2 separate regions of the Homo sapiens genome follow, and region 2 is linked to region 1. The links are contacts of gene promoters, found by promoter capture Hi-C in human tissues and cell types (Jung and others, 2019). All regions are on one chromosome and are shown on one strand. The core of a region is centred on a gene start or on the middle of the fragment in contact, and the rest is flanking DNA. Distances in the headings are between cores, read along the strand shown. Region 1 holds the start of ACVR1 (activin A receptor type 1). Region 2 has its middle 110 kb from the start of UPP2.

The links. Contacts are between HindIII fragments. The study calls those that stand out against the background at their distance.
Region 2: a fragment that was not itself captured here is called in contact with the fragment with the promoter of ACVR1 in region 1 in 2 of the 25 tissues and cell types used here (dorsolateral prefrontal cortex and neural progenitor cells).

The regions. Positions count from the first base shown.
Region 1 is chr2:157,874,835-157,877,880 of GRCh38, forward strand. It overlaps ACVR1 (activin A receptor type 1), which reads right to left and starts at 1,496. Exons shown (of 11, transcript NM_001111067.4): 1 at 962-1,496. It overlaps LOC105373714 (a long non-coding RNA gene), which reads left to right and starts at 1,750. Exons shown (of 2, transcript XR_923518.3): 1 at 1,750-1,882. RefSeq lists silencers at 968-1,177, 1,268-1,317, 1,328-1,547, 1,608-1,847, 1,868-2,057 and an enhancer at 1,443-1,737. The HindIII fragment of the contact is 2,058 bases long and covers 620-2,677 here.
Region 2 is chr2:157,991,735-157,994,780 of GRCh38, forward strand. No RefSeq gene overlaps it. Among named protein-coding and RNA genes, the nearest start is that of UPP2, 110 kb to the right of the region's middle. The HindIII fragment of the contact is 8,976 bases long and covers 1-3,046 here.

The DNA of each region.
Region 1 (3,046 bases), core at 246-2,745:
CAATAAAATTGACAAGTCCATTGTATTACCTTGCTGCCTCTCTCCAAAAGCCAAATTCATGACAACTTTTTAACCAAGACTTTTCTTCTGTTACTAAGTGGAACGTTTTCTTCTCTAAGTAGCTTTTCTCCCATGCAAGCAGCGTTCAAATCTCCAGGGGAAAGGAGGGGTGGGGAGGGGGTGGGAGACTATCTGGCACAAACTGGACAGAGCCGAGCCAGTCTAGAACCCGACGGAAGTTACTGAATCCAGCGGCCCCAGAGGCCCACATCTCTTCTTAGTGCGCCCGAGGTTCTAGCCTCACTGTTTTGGTTACAGTGTTGAAGGAAGGGTTTTAAACTTGGCAAAGTACCGTGCAACATCTGTAACCACATTTGCCTTCTGGGGATCGGAAGATGAATCCCACATTCCTGGCTTTGAAGCTTTTTGAAACTGCAGCTAGGAAGAACCGAGGGAGGGAGGGAGTTGAGCAGAGTTTATTGGCTGTCTCTCCAGCAGAAAATTCCTCTTGGAAGAGATGGATATTTTGAGGGTGGGGGAAATTCGCCTATCTATCTCCTTACTCTCTACAAGCTCAGCTAGGAAGGTAAGCCCCGTGGCCCCGCGGCCAGATCGATTTACAAGTCAGAGTCGCACACCCTGAAGGAGTTCACAACACACACACACACACACACGCACTCACACACACCCCAATACAAACCTGAGACCCCCGCTCCACGCCTCTGCCCCCCCACCCCCCATATCCCACCAGCAGTTCAGGCCCAAAGCAAGACAGTTTTGTTCCGCGGCTGCTTCCCCCACGGAGAGGGGATCAAGCTTGGGGGAGAAAGGAATGAAAGCGAGGGGGAGGCACCGCAGACGCCCACCCTGCCACCCCCGATCCCTGCCTCTTCTCCCGCTAGGCTACCTCCTCCCTCAGTCCTCCCGGCTCCAGCAGGCGCGGCCGGCGACCTGCGCTCACCTCGGGTCCCGCCGCGGCCGGGGGCTGAGCCGGGGGAGGCGGAGTGCGAGGCAGCCGGGCGCTGCAGGTCGGCGCGGCGCGGGGCGGCGCGGGGCGGGGCGGGGCGGTGCAGCCGGCGAGGGAGCCCGGAACTCTGCGGGGCCGGGAGCCGGGGGCCGAGGGCCGGCCCAGAGCGGCGGCGGCTGCGGTGGCTGCAGCGGAGCGGTGCGTGGGGCCGGGAGCTTCCCGGCCCTGGGGCCGGCGCGGCTGGCCGAGGAGCAGGCTGGCAGCGGCAGCGGCGGCAGCGGCAGCCACCCGGGGGAAAGAGCCGGGGGAGGGCGGGGAGGCGGGGTGAAGAGGAGGAGGAAGGGGAGGAGGGCGGGCAGAATAAACTTCCCGAGGCGCAGAGGCTCGGGCTGGGAGCACGACCGCGGGCGGGGCGGGCGGACCAGCTGGGCTTGCCCCCGGGGGCGGCGGGGGAGACCGTCACAGAGAGTAGAAAAGTTCCCCCTGCGCCGAGGGGGAGGCTGCGGCGGCGGCGGCGGCTGCAAAGAGCAGGAGCCGGAGCGGGAGGAGCGGGAGGAGGAGGAGGAGGAAGTGGCTGCGGAGCGCTCGGCCAATGAGTGTCTGGAGCTGTGATTAACCAGGCAGCAACACATCATTTCCTCCCGGCGCGGATCCAGGGAGCCGGGAGGGGAGAGAGGAGGCGGCGGGGCGGGGCCGTCCCCGCGCCCCCTGCAGGCGCCCGGCCGAGGGCGAGCCCGCCGAGCCCCGCCGAGCCTGACCGCGCCGCCCCCGGCGCGCCTGGCGCTGTCTGGCCGGTCGCTTGGCCCGGGTGGAAGCTATGAGCGCGCCGCCAGCGGGGCTCCTCGGAGGCGGCGGGGCAGGCCCGAGCTGGGCTCCTGTGGCCGGGGTGGGAGGAGAAGAGGCCGCGCGGCACGGGTGAGTGCCCAGGTAGGCGCGGGCGGGGCCGTCTGGACAGCTCCCGAGGGCGCGCGGGGCAGGCGGGCGGACGGGCGGGCATCCCGGGCCCGGCGACTGCGGGCGGCCACCTACTCGAGCCCTGCATGTCAGACTTGGGCTGGATTCTCAGAGAGAAGCCTTAGCATTCTCATCCAGGCCATCTCTGACCTGCCTTCAGATCCCCTTCCACTTTGCTCATTTCCTTGCAAGGTCTAGGGTTATGACAGAGCTTGCCATGTTCGCCTTTGGCTTCCTTAGTAACAGAAATAAGCATGGAGGGGCTTCTGCAGTGATCTAGCCCTGTCCTAGGCGCCATGGGAGCTTACAGTGGAAATGCAGGAACATTCTCCGCTGCAGAGAGTCTGATAACCTCGGTCCTTAGATACACAAAAACACCCCAGTGTGCTAATATTACCCAGAGCATCAAAAAGGCATGCAAGGATCAAATTTTGCATGGTTCCTGCTGAGTGTAAAGGAAAGCACTAAGCCATTTTCTCTGCCCTCTAGAAGCTTATAATGTACAGTCCTATCACAAAGCAGAATAAAAACATGAAACCTATAAATGGGAATGCCATAAAGTATTTTTATCTCTACAGGTTCATTCATGCAGAGGGCATTTATTGGGTGACTGCAGTACTGCAAAAGGTTGCAAAGGAAATGGAAGATCTGGTCCCTGCAGGTTGGGAGTTTACAATCTAATTAGAAATACAAGGCATATATACGTGAAAAAACTAGAATCCCCAGCTGTAAGCAAAAGGATGGAGTAGGTGGGAGCATTTTTTTCATAAAGAGAGCTTTGTACCTGTATGATTGGTGAGGAGCAGGAGAGGCAAGTTCAGTACCAATCAAGGCAAGAGCACCTATATGTATCCCTGCTCTATAGAATGATGTAACAGGGCCCTCATTGTCACTTGGCTGAAGTGTCAGCTCTGCCACTTACAAACTGTTTTGAACTGGGGCACATTTTTAACCTAAGAAGGGAATACAGGTTGTCTCGTGAGGTGGTTGTGCAGTTCAAATGAGATTACAAACGTGAAAGCTTGTGAAGCTCAATGATGTACATTCATGGAGTCCTCATTGTACAAACTGGCCCTTCTTGGTAACCTTTAGAGTTCCCTCCCAGGCTGTAAGCTGCAAGAGGGC
Region 2 (3,046 bases), core at 264-2,763, 120 kb after region 1:
TTTAGAAAGATCTATATTTTTAAAAGTAGTTAGATGCTTGGGAGTATTTTGTATGTACTGTTTTCTTAGTAGAAATATAGTGCATTAAATCAACAGGATTAGACAAATATGACAGATGGAAAAACACATCTTGGTGAGCAAAGTATGGAGGGATGAAGACATGATAAAGAAGAAAAGACTGCAGAGTGTTGATGTTCTTGTGACAAGAAGAAGGGGGTATGGCCTGGACTGGAGTCGTGGTAGGAATGGTTATGGAAGACAGTAACAACAATAACTAGTGTCATATGAAAAGGGATTGAGTTATGGATATAAGTGGATGCATTAAATCTGCAAGATCTAGAATTTCTTCAGCACTGCACTCCTTTTGTTGTTTTTCATACTGTCACAACTGCATTAATCAACTATTAGTGAATTTTTGACGACTCATTCATGTACCTACGAAGGAACAGGGGTAAGCAGAGCTCATTCTTCGGGTAGTCTTAAGTAGGCAGCCTGCGAGCTCAAATGTTCTAAATTTCCTTCTTTTCACCAAGTAGGTAGGGAGGTCTGAGCTTCCCGGAGATAGGTGGGGTGTGGAGGAGTTCATGGAACATCAAAAATATTGAGATGTTCAAATCAGAATGGATTCAACATCAAAGAGAGATCTTGCACATATTTCAGAAAAGGTGAACAAAGCAATTCCACATAAAATTGCTTGTTTTGTGGCTGTTAATGAGAAAATTCCCAGAAACATACCTTTTACTGTTTATGTCTCAGACCTTGTAAATCATGAAATGCAATTTCAGATTGTAGTGTAAGACCTATAGAGAAACGTGGGTATTGCTGTTAGCTGTAAATACAGTTCTTTATTATGATTGCAGCTTGTTCTCCCTAAAATAAAATTCAGCATGTGCTGAATTTAAGTTTAGCTTGGCTAACTTTTCTGCCAGATAGAATATAAGTACACTGCATATAATACTGTGTTAGCTTTTTTTTTTTCAACATGAACTCAAATTTTGAATGTTCTTATCAGTTTATTATTAAACCTTCATGCAAAAACAAAATGGGAAAATGTAAGGGCATAATCTGTGGCATCAGATAGAACTGTTTAGATCTTGATTATGCCACTTACTTGATTGCTAATCCTTACTTTCCTTATCTATAAAAATTGGATGATAGATATGCTTACCTCATATGGTAGCTCTGAGGTATAAAGGAGACAATGAATGTAGACTTTGTTGGGATACTTACGTATCCTCAGTAAATAATACCCATTTTCCCCACCCAAGTTCTGAACCAATTTAGAAACAGACAAGAGTAACGCAGGCAGGAGACCATTATCATTGATAAAGCTGACACTGGAGAACTTAGGCTTCCTGACGCTGAATACCAGAAATAGACAGGCTCACCAACTGGTATCAGGTAGTCCTGGACAATGGGTCGTTCCACCGGGAAAAGGTCTTTGCCACTATGCTTACAGCTTGCCTAAAATCATGCTCCCTGTGAGAGTTGCTACCAAAAGAGAAAGAGGCTGGAATACAAATACCCAGATTCTCTCAACTTATCCTTGCCAGGGGAGGATAAATGAGGAGGTGGAAGTATCCAGGAATGTTACAGCTCATGCAGCTCTCTCTCATGGGAGGAAACAGCAGGAGTGGAGAATGAGTATTCCCTCCCACAGAATGATTAGCACAGTGCCTGGCACATGCTAATTTATTATTTGTCATCTATGCCTATTATATTTACTGGTTCTTAAGGAAAAGTGAAAATAAATACAAATTATACTTTGAACATATGTGAGAGTGGTAGGTGGCAAGTTTTAGAGAGATTGATAAAACCTGAATAGTTAAGGTCCTTATATGTCATAATGTGCATTTTCATTTTGTTTCGTAGATAATGGATAACCAAAAATAATCTTAAATCAGGGAGAAACCCTCTATTAAGTCTGTTCTTACACTGTTATAAAGAACTACCTGAGACTGGCTAATTTATGAAGAAAAGAGATTTAATATACTCATAGTTCTGCAGGCTGTATAGGCAGCATGGCTGCGGGGCCTCAGGAAACTTAAAATTATGGCGGAAGATGAAGCAGAACCAAGCATATATTCATCATGGCGGAGCAGGAGATGGAGAGAGAGCAAAGGGGGAAGTGCTACACACTTTCAAACAACCAGATCTTTTGAGAACTCTATCATGAGACAGTACTAGGGGGATGGTGCCAAACCATCAGAAACCACCCCTATGATCCAATCACCTCCCACCAGGCCCTACCTCCAACACATAGGGTCACAATTCAACATGAGATTTGGATGGGGACACAGAGCCAAACCATATCAAACTTTCAAGTTTGCACTTTAGAATATGAACTCTTTCTTAGACTGTTTCATGTTGCTATAAAAGAATACCTGAGTCTGGGTAATTTGTAAAAGTAAGAGGTTTATCTGGCTCATGGCTCTGCAGGCTGTATGACCATGACACCAGCGTCTGCTTCTGGTGAGGGCTTCATGGAGCTTCCACTCATGGTGGAAGGCAGAGGAGAGCAGGCATCACATGGTAAAGGGAAAGAACAGAGAGAGAGAATGAGAGAGAGAGGAAGAGGGGTGGGGAGGGAGGTGTCAGACTCTTTAACAGATCTAACAGGAACTAAGAGTGAGAACTCACTCAATCCCGCAAGAATGGCACCAAGCCATTTGTGAGGGATTCATCCTCATGACCCCAACACCTCTCTCTAGGCCCCACCTCCAACATTGGGGATCAAATTTCAGTATGAGATTTGGAGGGGACAAATATTCAAACTATATCAAACTCTAACTGCAGTATACAACATAGAGAAGATGAACAGTCTCCCTGAGCCAGGCACTATGGTATGCACCTAATAGAATGCTCTCTCTTTTAATCCTCACAGCAATCTTGAGAATAATGCCACACTCACATCACTCCCATTTTAAGATTGCATAACTGAAACTTTGAAAGTTTAAATAATTTAGCCAAGATACTCAGCTTATAAATGAAAAAATCGAGAATTTGATCCCATATCTACCTGACTCTAAAACTCAGGACTGGCTTC